3 separate regions of the Homo sapiens genome follow, and regions 2 and 3 are each linked to region 1. The links are contacts of gene promoters, found by promoter capture Hi-C in human tissues and cell types (Jung and others, 2019). All regions are on one chromosome and are shown on one strand. The core of a region is centred on a gene start or on the middle of the fragment in contact, and the rest is flanking DNA. Distances in the headings are between cores, read along the strand shown.

Evidence for each region. The method cuts DNA at HindIII sites, captures the fragments that hold promoters and counts their contacts. A contact is called where the count stands out against the background at its distance.
Region 2: a fragment that was not itself captured here is called in contact with the fragment with the promoter of UBC in region 1 in 1 of the 25 tissues and cell types used here (lymphoblastoid cells).
Region 3: a fragment that was not itself captured here is called in contact with the fragment with the promoter of UBC in region 1 in 1 of the 25 tissues and cell types used here (hippocampus).

Annotation. Positions count from the first base shown.
Region 1 is chr12:124,913,400-124,918,240 of GRCh38, reverse strand. It overlaps UBC (ubiquitin C), which reads left to right and starts at 3,591. Exons shown (of 2, transcript NM_021009.7): 1 at 3,591-3,654; 2 at 4,467-4,841. The coding sequence starts at 4,470. It overlaps MIR5188 (microRNA 5188), which reads right to left and starts at 2,694; the gene lies at 2,582-2,694. RefSeq lists enhancers at 415-624, 835-1,104, 1,604-1,898, 3,563-4,012, 3,337-4,294 and 2 more and silencers at 1,595-1,654, 3,013-3,352. The HindIII fragment of the contact is 8,951 bases long and covers 1-4,841 here.
Region 2 is chr12:124,482,970-124,487,810 of GRCh38, reverse strand. NCOR2 (nuclear receptor corepressor 2) reads left to right here. Exons shown (of 49, transcript NM_006312.6): 4 at 1,243-1,370; 5 at 4,038-4,215. Among named protein-coding and RNA genes, the nearest start is that of NCOR2, 82 kb to the left of the region's middle. The HindIII fragment of the contact is 9,163 bases long and covers 1-4,841 here.
Region 3 is chr12:124,574,632-124,579,472 of GRCh38, reverse strand. No RefSeq gene overlaps it. Among named protein-coding and RNA genes, the nearest start is that of NCOR2, 9.4 kb to the right of the region's middle. The HindIII fragment of the contact is 3,701 bases long and covers 266-3,966 here.

The sequences.
Region 1 (4,841 bases), core at 2,342-4,841:
AAAGTGCTTTTTCAACTATTAAATTTTATTTTACCCTTAAACAAAGCTTATTATATGAGGTCACATGAGTTGTCAAATTCATAGAGACAGAAAGTAGAATGGTGGATGCCAGGGGCTGGTGGGAGGGAGAAATGGGGAATCAGTTTTTCATGGGGACAGAGTTTGTTTTGCAAGACGAAAAGAGCTCCAGAAATGGCTTGGTGGTGATGGCTGATGCACAATACTGAATGTACTTCATGCTACAGAAATGTACACTTAAGAATGGTAAATTTTATGTGTATTTTACCACAATTTTAAGACAAAACCAAACGACGACACAAACAAAGCCCAAATAGGTTAAATAACTTCCTAATGTTCCTAAAGTAGGCAAATTTGGAGACTAGCTAAGTCCGGTTTTGACCGCTGAGATGAATGGGTTATTTTTAAGCTGGAGCGGTTTGTGTTCCACCACACAGTTATACAGCACAAGCAGAAACAGGAAGAAGAACACATTCCCCAGGTTTTTTTTTTTTACTTCCTGTTTGCCAGGCCTCTAACCTGCAGGCGTCCTTGACAACCTTTTATGGTTATATAAGCGATGACAAAGCAAGGCAAACCCTTCCCACCACCTCTCTGATTCCACCCTTTTTCTTGGGGGAAGCAAGTTTGTTGACCCTCACTCATGCTCTCAGACAGTTTCATGGGGCTGGATTAAGTCACATACAAGGTGGTGAATTTCAGAAGGGGGAACTGAATCCTTAGGGGGAGGGGAAAAACGAAGGCGGAGGAGCAGGCGCTGATCCAACCCCGCCCTCCCCAGCTGCAGCCCAGCACCCCGGCCCTTTGTGAGCTCAGCTCATCACACGCTCCCTTCCGCCTGCCAATCCCGCCCTGTTGCTGGGCCTCTGTCCCTTCTCCATTGGTGCCAGCTCTGAAGCAATCTTTTCTGGGGCGCCTGCAAAGGACGGATCTGTGGGTGGAACGAACTGAAAACGGATCCAGTGACTCATCCCGATTCTTGCACATTCTAGCACATCGCATTCTAGGTCAGCAGGGTTTAGGTTTTAAGAGCGTGACTTGATACCTGACTCCTGAGTCCAAGTGGGACATTTAGACTTTGGGAACCCTTTCGGAAAACAGAAAAGCAGTTGTTGCAACAACAAAAATCCTTTGTAGGACAGGGTTTCTTAATTTCAGCACTATTAATATGTTGGGTCTGATAATTCTTTGTTGTGGGGGACTGTCCCTCATAGAATGTTCAGTGGCATCCCTGGTGTCTACCAACAGTGCTAGTATTAGTAGTAGCATCCCCTAACCTCCCCTGAGTTGTGACAACCAAGAATATCTCCAGATATTGCCAAATGTCCCCTGAAAGAGCAAATCACTCCTTGTTGAGAACCATTGTTGTAGAGAAACATCAGACACCTGCGTTTTGGGAGGCCATTTTCTTCCCTGTCACCTCAGTGACTTTGGAGAAAGGTTTATTTCTGTTTGCTTCAATAACCATTTAAGTCAGGGAATGCTGGGATGTTTTCAATAATTTTTTTCTGCTAGAGACAACATTGGTTTCTCTTTGCAGCTAACCTTTGGCCCATTACCCACCCTACCCTCATCCCCTCTTCTTCCTTTTTCCTCCTCCTGTCCTCCTCTCCCGCCCCTGCCTCTGCAGTTAGGGCTGTTTTTTCTCTGTACCTTTTGGACTCTGAAAAAAGCTATGTCACAAAGCTGGTGACTCAGCCTTTAAACAACATGAATCACAAGGCTTGCAGCAGAGTAACAGCCAAAAGCAACCAGGGCGTGGTTGAAAGCCAGGCCTGGTCACCTCAGAAAGAATCTCAGCTTTTTAATCCCTTCAAAACTCCTTCCCGAAATGTAGGGGAAAAACAAAAAACAAAAACTTTGCAGAAATGTGTATTGGAAATCACTGGGGTATCCTGCCAATCCTGGAAAATGACACTTTTATTATTCGTTTTAATTTCCCAGTAACACATGAATTCATTCTCTTTAAAATGTTAAAAATTGGAGATGTCAAAGTCTGTTTTGAACAATGCACAGATCTTGGATTTTCATAAATACACAGAAACATGGGTTACCATAGAAAATATATAGCAGGTTCATTTTGCTTTGATGCATATTTTAAGTCTGCCGTTTAAATAATGTAATGTTCATAACTTAAAACAAGAATGCAGCCTTTTCCTAATGGCAAAATATTTTTCAGTTGGTAGCCTCTTTTTCTCTTTTTTTTGAAGCTTTTAAGGGTAGAAATCAAAATAGCCTCCCTACCTCCAATACATTTGTAGAAACAGGGACTATTTGTAGAAGAGTCCAGAAGGAACAGTGGCTGGGAAATTGAGGGCATGAGGGAGACTTTTCACTGTACACTTTAAAAAGACACATTTAAAAAATCTCACCATGTTCGTATATTTTAAAACATTTAAAAAATATACTGAAGAAATGACACGTAGGGATCACAAAATAGGTTGTGGTAAAAATTTAAAAAGCTGGCTGGTGATGCTTTTCTCCCCACTTCTTTTACCAAAATAGAATTGCCCTGTAGAATTACATTTCATATTTGACACCCTACCCTGCACTGAAATAAGGTTGGGATTCTATTCCTGTCTTTTAAAATCTCCGGTTTAAATGGGTCCGATTATTGAATGGATCCTGCTTACAATAATCGTACCCATTGAAACCAGAGAAATTTCCATGCCTCCCTGTTGGCATCAAGTAGGACCTTTCCATACCTGGCCCTCAGAATGTACAGGAAGGTGGAAGAACAGTCTAGAAGGATGTCGTTCGCTCAGCCTTGCGTTCCAGCTAAAATAAAACTGTGTGGGGTTTCCGCCTCTTTTTTCCAAATTTAACCTGGACACCCAGCTCCTCTGCAGTGTCTCCCCTGGAAAGTTCTCGAGCGTTCCCCAGCTTTAGGGCCACGCCCGCCCTGAGATCTGCCGAGTCATTGTCCTTGTCCCGCGGCCCCGGGAGCCCCCCGCGACCGGCCTGGGAGGCTCAGGGAGGTTGAAGGGGGCTGAGCAAAGGAAGCCCCGTCATTACCTCAAATGTGACCCAAAAATAAAGACCCGTCCATCTCGCAGGGTGGGCCAGGGCGGGTCAGGAGGGAGGGGAGGGAGACCCCGACTCTGCAGAAGGCGCTCGCTGCGTGCCCCACGTCCGCCGAACGCGGGGTTCGCGACCCGAGGGGACCGCGGGGGCTGAGGGGAGGGGCCGCGGAGCCGCGGCTAAGGAACGCGGGCCGCCCACCCGCTCCCGGTGCAGCGGCCTCCGCGCCGGGTTTTGGCGCCTCCCGCGGGCGCCCCCCTCCTCACGGCGAGCGCTGCCACGTCAGACGAAGGGCGCAGCGAGCGTCCTGATCCTTCCGCCCGGACGCTCAGGACAGCGGCCCGCTGCTCATAAGACTCGGCCTTAGAACCCCAGTATCAGCAGAAGGACATTTTAGGACGGGACTTGGGTGACTCTAGGGCACTGGTTTTCTTTCCAGAGAGCGGAACAGGCGAGGAAAAGTAGTCCCTTCTCGGCGATTCTGCGGAGGGATCTCCGTGGGGCGGTGAACGCCGATGATTATATAAGGACGCGCCGGGTGTGGCACAGCTAGTTCCGTCGCAGCCGGGATTTGGGTCGCAGTTCTTGTTTGTGGATCGCTGTGATCGTCACTTGGTGAGTAGCGGGCTGCTGGGCTGGCCGGGGCTTTCGTGGCCGCCGGGCCGCTCGGTGGGACGGAGGCGTGTGGAGAGACCGCCAAGGGCTGTAGTCTGGGTCCGCGAGCAAGGTTGCCCTGAACTGGGGGTTGGGGGGAGCGCAGCAAAATGGCGGCTGTTCCCGAGTCTTGAATGGAAGACGCTTGTGAGGCGGGCTGTGAGGTCGTTGAAACAAGGTGGGGGGCATGGTGGGCGGCAAGAACCCAAGGTCTTGAGGCCTTCGCTAATGCGGGAAAGCTCTTATTCGGGTGAGATGGGCTGGGGCACCATCTGGGGACCCTGACGTGAAGTTTGTCACTGACTGGAGAACTCGGTTTGTCGTCTGTTGCGGGGGCGGCAGTTATGGCGGTGCCGTTGGGCAGTGCACCCGTACCTTTGGGAGCGCGCGCCCTCGTCGTGTCGTGACGTCACCCGTTCTGTTGGCTTATAATGCAGGGTGGGGCCACCTGCCGGTAGGTGTGCGGTAGGCTTTTCTCCGTCGCAGGACGCAGGGTTCGGGCCTAGGGTAGGCTCTCCTGAATCGACAGGCGCCGGACCTCTGGTGAGGGGAGGGATAAGTGAGGCGTCAGTTTCTCTGGTCGGTTTTATGTACCTATCTTCTTAAGTAGCTGAAGCTCCGGTTTTGAACTATGCGCTCGGGGTTGGCGAGTGTGTTTTGTGAAGTTTTTTAGGCACCTTTTGAAATGTAATCATTTGGGTCAATATGTAATTTTCAGTGTTAGACTAGTAAATTGTCCGCTAAATTCTGGCCGTTTTTGGCTTTTTTGTTAGACAATGCAGATCTTCGTGAAGACTCTGACTGGTAAGACCATCACCCTCGAGGTTGAGCCCAGTGACACCATCGAGAATGTCAAGGCAAAGATCCAAGATAAGGAAGGCATCCCTCCTGACCAGCAGAGGCTGATCTTTGCTGGAAAACAGCTGGAAGATGGGCGCACCCTGTCTGACTACAACATCCAGAAAGAGTCCACCCTGCACCTGGTGCTCCGTCTCAGAGGTGGGATGCAAATCTTCGTGAAGACACTCACTGGCAAGACCATCACCCTTGAGGTCGAGCCCAGTGACACCATCGAGAACGTCAAAGCAAAGATCCAGGACAAGGAAGGCATTCCTCCTGACCAGCAGAGGTTGATCTTTGCCGGAAAG
Region 2 (4,841 bases), core at 700-3,199, 430 kb after region 1:
GATATTGAGTTTTACCCCCTATGATAATGGATAATGTGTTAAAGAAACAAGTATTTGGACTCTTGTTAAGCAGGAAGACCGTACAGGACAATTGTGCTATCAGCGTCAAGACTGTCACGATAAGGGAGAGAGACCAGGCTCAGCGCCAAATACGGCCAAGACAGCTGGGGCCTCATAGCCTAGCCGCAGGGCGGAGGGAGGGGTCGGTGGATGGAAAATTACTAAGAGGAGCGCTTGAGGGTGGGGGGTTCCTCTAGACTGACTTAGCAGGATGCCTGCAGCTGGGCAGAGCCCCGCAAGGCCAAGGCCAAGGCCGAGGCCCCGTAGAGAGAGGATGGGTCAGAGGAGCTTGACTCAGGTGTGGGCAAGGAGAGTCTTTGTCAAATGGACGACGGTGTGTTATTAAAGGAGGAAGGTCTGCCTAAGGCTTACCCTTCTGGCTGTGATACGAGCGGGGAGTTCCTCTTTTACAGGGCGGCCTTGGGGTCAGGGGTCGCTTTGTTCTGAAACCTGGTCTTTGGGCCTCGCTGGCTGTCGGGTGTTTGTCGCCATCACTTGCCACCATCCATCCTTCTCCTGGCGAGTGAGGCCCGAGCCTCGTTCCCTCGCGTGGGCATCACTTACCCACCCTGCCAAGAGCTGGGCATCTAGGTTGGGCCTTTTCCCAGTTGTTGCTGCAAATGCATTTCTGTTTTTACAAATAATGCTGCCCCGTATGCACCTTCAGTCCTGTCTTCCCAGGCCTGCATTTCCAAGCTTCAGCTCCTCAGGCTGGAGGGACCCACAGCCTGGCAGGGGTAGGATGGGGTGGGAGGGTAGAAAAGCGAAGACAGCTTCCTCTACTCTGGCCCCCCAGTCAACGCCAGCATGGCCGGCAGACAGAGGCCATGGTTAGGATGGTTCCAGGCCTGTATTAGCCTGTGGCCTCAGACAGCCCCATCAGACCTCCCAGGCTTGGCAGTCTCATTTGGAAGGTGGGCGTGATCGTGGGTCCCTGGGATGCTGTGTGGGAAGGATGCAGCCCAGGGCCGTTCAGCTGTGTTCTTTCTCCTCCTTGGTGTTCGGCCCCAAGGGTAGCCTCTGGCCAGACGGTCCCTGAGGTTCCCTGCAGGACTTGGGCTTATCTGCCTAGGGCAGGAGCGAGCCTGAGCAGGGAGTCCACGGCCTTGCCCACTGTGCCCTGCCGTGCCCCGCCATGCCCGTGCCCGCCCACGCTCACCACTCCTCTGTCCCCTCCTGCAGGACGTCGGGCTCCTGGAGTACCAGCACCACTCCCGCGACTATGCCTCCCACCTGTCGCCCGGCTCCATCATCCAGCCCCAGCGGCGGAGGCCCTCCCTGCTGTCTGAGTTCCAGCCCGGGAATGAACGGTGAGGAGAGAGTTGCTGCCTCCCTGTCCAGGGCGTGAGAGCTCCTTCTCAGATGGAGAAGCAGAGGCCCGTGGCAGAGCAGGAGCACACAGGGTCCTGTGAAATGAGGGGATGTCGGGCCGTGTGTTCACCCTTGACCTGGCGTGGGCGTGACTCGGGGTGAGGATGGGACGAGCAGGGAAGAGCCACGTGGCCCTCAGACTTCCAGCGTGGAACTTCAGTGGCCTCTGTGGGTTTAGGCAGCAGTGGGGACCTCCAAGCTGGGCTGCAGCAGGGCTGGGCTTCTGTGGGAAGATTTGAGTCCACACCTGGTGCCCCTGGGGCCCCTGCCCTCTCCTCCCATTCTTCCTTCTTCTCCAGCTGGCAGAGGACACCCTCTGGTGTGTGCCTGTGCTGGGCCAGCCTTACTTTCCTTGATCCAGGTGGGAAGGGAATGAACAGGTTAGGTGGTAGGGTGAGAGGGAGGTGGGGAGTGGGAGGGAGGTGGGGTGGGGAGCTGGAGGGACTACAGCAAGGGGAGGGCCAGGGCTGGGTCAGAGCCAGCTCTCCATGCATTCACTTGGGATCGGTAGGCCACGTTCTTTCTCCCATCTTCTCTAGGAGCTTCTGCTGGAGACGGCTGAGGTGTGGGGAATTGTGCCTATTTCTCAGATGGGGCAGCTGAGGCTGCGAGGTTGAGGGATGGGCTCTTGTTTACTCAGCCAGGACTAGAAGTCGAGGCACCAGGCCCCAGCCCTTCATGGTACCACGGAGGTGTCCCAGGGCCCCAGATCAGGCGGGGCTGGTGAACTCAGGTGGGCGCAGGCGTCTGGAGGAGGGGAGGCCGAGGCAGCGTGCCTTCTGTACCTGGATTGGTTTCCTGGGCCTGCCGTCGCAACGTGCCACAAACTGGGCGGCTTCAAGCCACAGAAGTGCATTCCCGTGATCTGAAGTCAGGGCGTCCGCAGGGCCGCGCCCCCTCAGAAGGCTCAAGGGGAGGATGCTTTTCTGTCTCCTCCAGCTTCTGGGGGCTACAGGCGTTCCTCAGCTGTGGCTGCATCGGTCCAATCTCTGCCTCTGCCTCTGCCTCTGTCTCACGTGGCCATTTCCTTGTCTGTCTCTGTGTTCTCTTGTTGTGTTACAAGGATCCCAGTGATCCTAATCCAGGATGGCCTCATCTTAGCTTAATTCCATCTGCAATGACCCTAGGTCCAAAGAAGGTCTTATTTTGAGGTTCCAGTGGCTGTGCATTTTGGGAGGATGTTATATTTGGAGGTTCCAGTGGCCGTGGATTTTGGGAGGACATTATTTGAGCCACTGCAGTGCCACTATCATGTTTAAGAGAAAACACCATGCGCTTCCTGCCAAGCCCCATGTAATGGTGAAGCCCTGGGTTCTGGGCCTTGAAGAGGGGGATGTCTTGGGGCCCAGCTTTGGAGGGACAAGGACTTGAGGGCCCTCCAGGGAGGTGAGCACAGAGGGGTGGCTGCCCCGCTCCCCGGGGGGGCCAGCAACACGGCCCCAGCCCGTGCTGCAGTGGGCAGCATTCAGTCAGTCTACAGGCACTGATTGAACACCTACTGTGCGCCAGTACCTGGGGACAGCCATGAACAAGACAGGTGAACCACCCTGCGTTCATTCATGGGTGGGGGAGGTGGCCAGGAAACACCTGTTGTCACCAAGCGCGTGGGAGGGCAGTGGAGAGAGAGCAGACAGGCGGGTGTAGTGTGGTCTGGCCTGGGACAAGGAGGCGCCATCTGCACCATGACAGGAAGGGGAGGAGCTCACATGGAGGGCCTGAGGTCTCAGTGCTCCAGGCAGAGCCCAGCAGGTGCAAAGGCCCTGGGGCAGGAGTGCAGTGGCGGGACAGCGAGGGCCAGGCCAGGCAGGGCTTGTGCAGGAGGGGAACAGCTGTGGATTCCCTGCTTAGCCTCTGGGAAAAGCATTTCAGCAAGGCCCATATTCAGGCTCTTTCTGGTGGGTGATGGTTGGAGCCTCAGAGGTGGAGGCCAGGAGTCCCAGCTCCGTGGGGTGTGCTTAGTTAGGCAAGGCCATGCCCTCTCTAGGCACACTGCGGAGGAGGGTTCAGGAGAGCCAGTCGCTGGGGAAACTGGGCAGCTCCAGTCTCTGCACCAGGCTGCTAGGCTGAGTTGAGAAGGTGGTTAGGCCAGGTTCAGCAGCAAGAGTTCTGCGATCGGCCAGCGATGTCTGCCCTGCGTGGGTGAGAGGGAAATGGCATCACGGGTGCTGTTATCTGTGTTAGGCTCACAGCGTTTCCCGGATGGACTGTGCCTGTGAACCACCCAATGATCTTGTTAAAATGCCGAGTCTGACTCAGTAGGCCTCAGATGGTACTGGAGATTCTGCATTGTAGCCAGCCCCAGGTGGGGACGGTGGGGTGGTCCGTAGCAAGGGAGGGGCAGTCACTCTGGGGTGTTCCAGTGCCACCGTAGCACACTCCCTCCCTGTAAATGTCCTCGGTGAATGTGGACCTGAAGGAAGGCAGCGCTGCATTGGAGTCCTGCCCTGCTGTGGGACCGTGGGAGGTGGGCTCCTGTGAGCACCTTCCTGGCAGGATCATACAGAGCACGGCGCGCAGTAGATGCTCGGCGCAGAGGGTGGTCGGGGCCTCGGGAGTTCTCAGAGCCGCAATCTCCTATGTGACGTTGGATGCCTCACCTCCTGCAGGTCCCAGGAGCTCCACCTGCGGCCAGAGTCCCACTCATACCTGCCCGAGCTGGGGAAGTCAGAGATGGAGTTCATTGAAAGCAAGCGCCCTCGGCTAGAGCTGCTGCCTGACCCCCTGCTGCGACCGTCACCCCTGCTGGCCACGGGCCAGCCTGCGGGATCTGAAGACCTCACCAAGGTAAGCCTGGGCCCCCAGCTGGGAGCTCCTCTCCCGCTTGAGGTTCTGCTGCTGGTTGGGCTGGGTGGGAGGTGGTGGGTAGGGGTGCAGGGAGGGGGCAGCTCGGGCAAAGGCTTGGAGGTGGGCCAAGCACCGGGTGCACAGAGCTGGGTGGCAGGAAGAGGGCAGGCGCTGGGTCTCTGGAGGTGCCAGAGTGTGGGAAGAAGTGGGGAAGGTGTTCCAGGTGGGCAGAGCAGCAAGTGCAAAGGCCCTGGGGCAGGAATAGGCTTGTGGTCACGGGGTAGCTGGCGTGAGGGAGGGGAGAGCTGGGATGGGAGGGCCTGGGGTGCCGTGGAGCAGAGAGCTGCCATTCGATGGGGGTCAGGACCGTCCTGTGGTCGGTGGGCAGCTTTCAGCACATTCTGAGAGCTTCCTCGAGGGTGGGTTGTTTGGTTCCATGCTTGCTTGGAACAGGGGGCTCAGTGACCCCTGCCTCGAGCCCTGCACAGCAGGCAGCCCCCTGGGCCTTGAACCCCGGCCCGCGAGGTGGACAGCTCAGGGCTCTGCCAGGCACCTGAGGCTTCTGGATTCTTAAGGGTCAGGGAGGGGAGACTCCAGAGTCCCGCAAAGTGAGATGAGACAGAGTT
Region 3 (4,841 bases), core at 867-3,366, 340 kb after region 1:
GATGAACTGATGAGGCAGTGGCTGGAGCCCCCAAATGCAGGTTCAGACAATACGCATGGGAAAAGCGGGAATCCTGAAATGACGGCAACTGCAGGCTTTGAAGTTGGACAGACTGGGTTCGAAGCCAACGCTCCCCTCTTGAGTCAGGTGATCTCAAGCTTTCCCTCTGGCTTCTCACCTTTGTTTTTCTTATGCATGAGACGGATCTGCTGGGTGGAATAATAGCTCCAGAGATGTCCCCATCCTAATTTCTAGAATCTGTGAATCTGCTACCTTACATGGCAAAGGGGCTTTGCAGAGGTGATTAAGTAAAGGATTTTGAGATGGGAGATGATCCTGGATTATCCGGGTGGGCCCAGTGTAATCACAAGCTTCCTTGTGAGAGGGAGTCAGGAGGTCAGAGTTGGGGAGGAGATGCAGCGATGGAAGAAGAGATTGGAGTGAGGCGAGGCCACCAGCCTCTGGCAGCTGGAAAAGGTGAGGAAATAGATTCTCCCTCAGATCCTCCAAGAGGAACACAGCCCTGCTGGCACCTTGATTCCATCTCTCCAGGAGCCACTTCAGACTGCTGACTTCCAGAACTGTAAGGTAATGAATCTGTACTGTTTTCAGCCACCACGTTTGGCTTAATTCATTACAGCAGCGACAGGAGAGTAATACCATGGGGCTGATAATCGTGTCTCCTTCCAAAGGTTCTTGCAGATTCCAGAAGTCTGAGCATGAACTGGGCAGGTTGGAATAGCCCAGGCAGCCTTTGCAGTGATTAGCCAGTCTCAGCACCAGTTCTGCCTTTGCCAGGAAGTCTTCCCGGGTTTCTCCTGGCCCACGCCCACACCTCCCCTTGTGGCTGACATCTATATGGCCTGGCACTGTGCTAAGGCTTTACACCCAGGATCCCATTTAATTCTAACGGCCACCCCGTGAGGAAGGGGCTCACAGGACACCCATATAACAGAAAGGAAACTGAGGTATGGGGAAGGTAGGAAAGATCATGGGATGGGTGGCTTTGGAGAGGCCGCGCTGGAGCCTCCCAGGCCTGATCCACCCACATCGCACACCCTTCATCGGCTTGACTTGGCCCCCAGAGGCCCTAAGAGCAGGATGCACTCCAAGACTGCAGTGTGTGCCTTTCCACGAAGAGCTTCGAAGGGCTCGCGGGGACATGCGTGGAATTTTTCTTCCACAGCGCTGCCAGAGCAAATTGGTTTCCAGGCACAGACGGGCTCCCTTCCCTTCTCCCTGCCCAGGCTACAGGCACAGACGGGCTCCCTTCCCTTCTCCCTGCCCAGGCTTGTCTCGGCCCCGCCCCTGCAGGCCTCTCCTCCTGAGGCCTGGGGCACTGGATTCCCTACATCTCACCTGCTGACCCTCCACAGCGCCCATTTCCTCCACCCCCTGCACTGCCCCTGTCTTGGCACTCGTTATTTCTCATTGCCATGAGACCTCCCACCCGGCCTCCCTGCCTCTCAGGGATCCCCATTCTAAACACGCCCAGACCTGACCACAGTCCTGCTGAAACCCATCAGGGTCTCCCATTGCTTGTAGGGGAAGGGTGGGCTCCGTGTTGTGGCTTGCGAGGACATGCGTGTTTGCCGAGCTCGTGCATCCTACCTGAGGGCCTTTGCACTTGCCACGCCCCCTGCCCCAAATGTCCTTTCTGTGGACATCCTCGTGGCTGGCACTGTCTTTCATTCATGTCTGTGCCCCATTGTCACCTCCCCCAAGAGGCCTTCCCCAGCCACCCTGTGCTTTACTCTCCTCTCAACACCACCTGAAACAACAGCATGCCATTACATATTAATTTGATTTCTTGTGCTTTCAGCCAGGGAGGGAGTCCAGCCCCATTTTACAGATGAGGAAAACTGAGGCTCAAAGAGATCAAGTGACTTGCCCCTCCTCACGCTCCAGCCACACCGGTGTTCTATCCATTCTTCAGACACATCGAGTCACTTCCCATGGTGTGGCCTTTGCATCTGCTGTTTCTCCCACCTAGAATGCTGTTCCCTCACCCCCGGCCGCCGCCGTCTTAAATGTCACCTCCTCAGGGAGACCCTCCAGGATCACCTAATCTCAAACCTGTCCTCCCCGTGCTCTGCAGCACTCCTGGCCCCTATCCTTTTGGGCCCCCTTCACCAGCCTTGATGATGCTTCCTTCCTTTGCTTGTGTGATTCGTGACTCCCTCAATCTTGCAGGGAAGAGGATCTGCCCTGGGTGTTTGGAGGGCTTCCCGCAGGGTGCTACAGGGCCTGAGCAGTTGAGGTGGAGCCTCCTGGCAGGATGCTCAGCGATGTCACAGGCCTGGGCTACCAGGGAGCTGCTGCCCCAGCCCAGGTGGGAAGCCACCTTCCAAATGAGACTCTGTCCCCATAGTGTCTGACCCCCTGCTGCAGTCCACTCGGCCCAGTGGCTGCTGCAGACCCTCTCTCCACCCGATGGACTTGGTCCTGAATTTGAGTGTGATAAATGGGTTGCTGGACCCAGAATCCATACAGAGCCCTAGCTGCAAGGGATCCTGGAAACATGGTCGTTGGCTTCTGCTGTTCAGGAAGACGGACCAGGAAGAGTGGGAGACACATGCAGCAGGCCCAGCCAGGTGTCTCCCACTCTGCCCTCCAGAGAGCTGCCTCCGTGTTGAGTCTTGTTCACTGTGGGACCCCAGGACCAACAGAAAACGTGTTTGTTGAGTGATTCAATGAGATAGCCGAGTTTGGAGGTGAACCCAGATCTGTCGGATTCGAATCTGTGGATCCTTTCCACTTTAACTTGCTAGAGGGACCTTCCCCCTGGGATTTTAGAGCCCTGTCAACTTTTCACGTGCAATGCTGGGCTTACAATAATTCTGGCAGGCACCAGAGAGGCCTGGAGGACCCTTCTGAGCCAGGGGGACCAGCAGCATTCATTTTTAAAATGAGAGATCCAGTATGACTGGCTCGGACAGGCAGAAGCCAGAGGGAACCCAGGAGGGACAAACAAGCTCAGTTCTAAGACCGCAGGTCGCACCCACTCTGGACAGGCCTTTGGGGTCTGATCTCCCCTTGGTCCAGGTCTGAGCGGGGCGGTTTGGGCCAGGGCTGCTTTAGAGTTGGATGCAGCAACAGTCACCACTGCAGTGCAGGCTCTTTCACCATCTGTGTGTGTGTCTGTGCGTGTCTGTGCCCTGGGAAGAAGGGAAGGGGCAGGGGTTGGCTTTCCAGGCCCAAGCAGAGGGTGAGGCCACCCAGGGGCTAATTCCTAACATTCTCAGGGAGGCTGAGAAGGAGAAAATGTGGGGCAAAGATGCTGGAAAGGAGACCTCCTTGAATCTCGAAAGACTCCAGAAGTGCACGCAGGGATGTCCAAAACCAGATATCCAAGCTGAAAAACAAAGCAAGAAAGCATTTTCCATCTGTAAACATTTCACACAGACATGGTCAGAGCAAGTGACCCTCTGCCTCAACCCCCATTTCCCAGGGCGTCCCCTGCACCTGCCCTTGTCACATCCTCCCCCAGCCCCCACCCAGAGGCAACCTCTGCTGTCAATTTGTCCTGTGTCCTCCCCAACCTCTCCCTGGCTCCTGCCATATGTCCCTCCCTGAACTGCCCACTCCATCCACTGTTCTCACACGGGGCTCTTTGCTGTTCCAGGAATACACCAGGCACATTCCCACCCCAGGGCCTTTGCACTGGTGGTTCCCTCTGCCTGTTGTGCTTTCTCCCAGATACTTCCCTGACCTCCCACACCTGTGCACACTACCTTCCTTTCCTGATTTATTCATTATCTTTTTGAGACTGAGTCTCGCTCTGTCACCCAGGCTGGAGTGCAGTGATGCGATCGTGGCTCACTGCAACCTCTGCCTCCCGGGTTCAAGCGATTCACCTTCCTCAGCCTCCCAAGTAGCTGGGATTTCAGGCACCTACTACCATGCCCAGCTAATTTTTGTATTTTTGGTAGAGAGGTGGTTTCACCATGTTGGCCGGGCTGGTCTCGAACTCCTGACCTCAGGTGATCCACCCACCTTGGCCTCCCAAGGTGCTGGGATTCCAGGAGTGAGTCACAGTGCCTGGCCTTCCTTTCTGGATTTATTTCTTGCAGAGCACTTACCACCTTCTCATCCAGGGAATGATATATTTATTGAGTTTTAATTATGCATCCCTCTCTTTAGAATGTCAGCTCCACGGAGGCAGAGACTGCCTATCTCATTCACTGCTATATCTCACACACCTAGTGTGGTGCCTCGCACACAGTGGGCACGCCTGAATTAATCTCCTTGCAGAAGTCTTCATGCATATAAGATATGGAATCAATCTAAGTGTCCATCAATGAAGGATTGAATAAAGAAAGTGTGGTACCTATACACCATGGATCACTATTTAGTTATAAGAAAGAATGAAATCCTGTCTTTTGCAGCAATGTGGATAGAACTGGAGTCCATTATCCTAAGCGAAACGACTCAGACACAGAAAGACAAATACTGGCCGGGCGCAGTGGGCCATGCCTGGAATCCCAGGCACTTTCGGAGGCCAAGGCGGGCAGATTGGTTGAGGCCAGGAGTTCGAGACCAGCCTGGCCAACATGGTGAAACCCGTCTCTACTAAAAATACAAAAATTAGCTGGGCATGGTGGTGTCCCAGCTACTTGGGAGGCTGAGGCGGGAGAATCACTTGAACCTGGGAGGTGGAGGTTGCAGTGAGCCAAGATCACGCCACTGAACTTCCAGCCTGAGTGACAGAGCGAGATTCTGTCTCAAAAAAAAAAAAAAAAAAAAAAAAGCAAATACTGCATGTTTTCACTTACAAGTGGGAGCTAAATAATGTGTACACATGGAAGCAGAGTGTGGAATGATGGAATTGGAGACCGAGA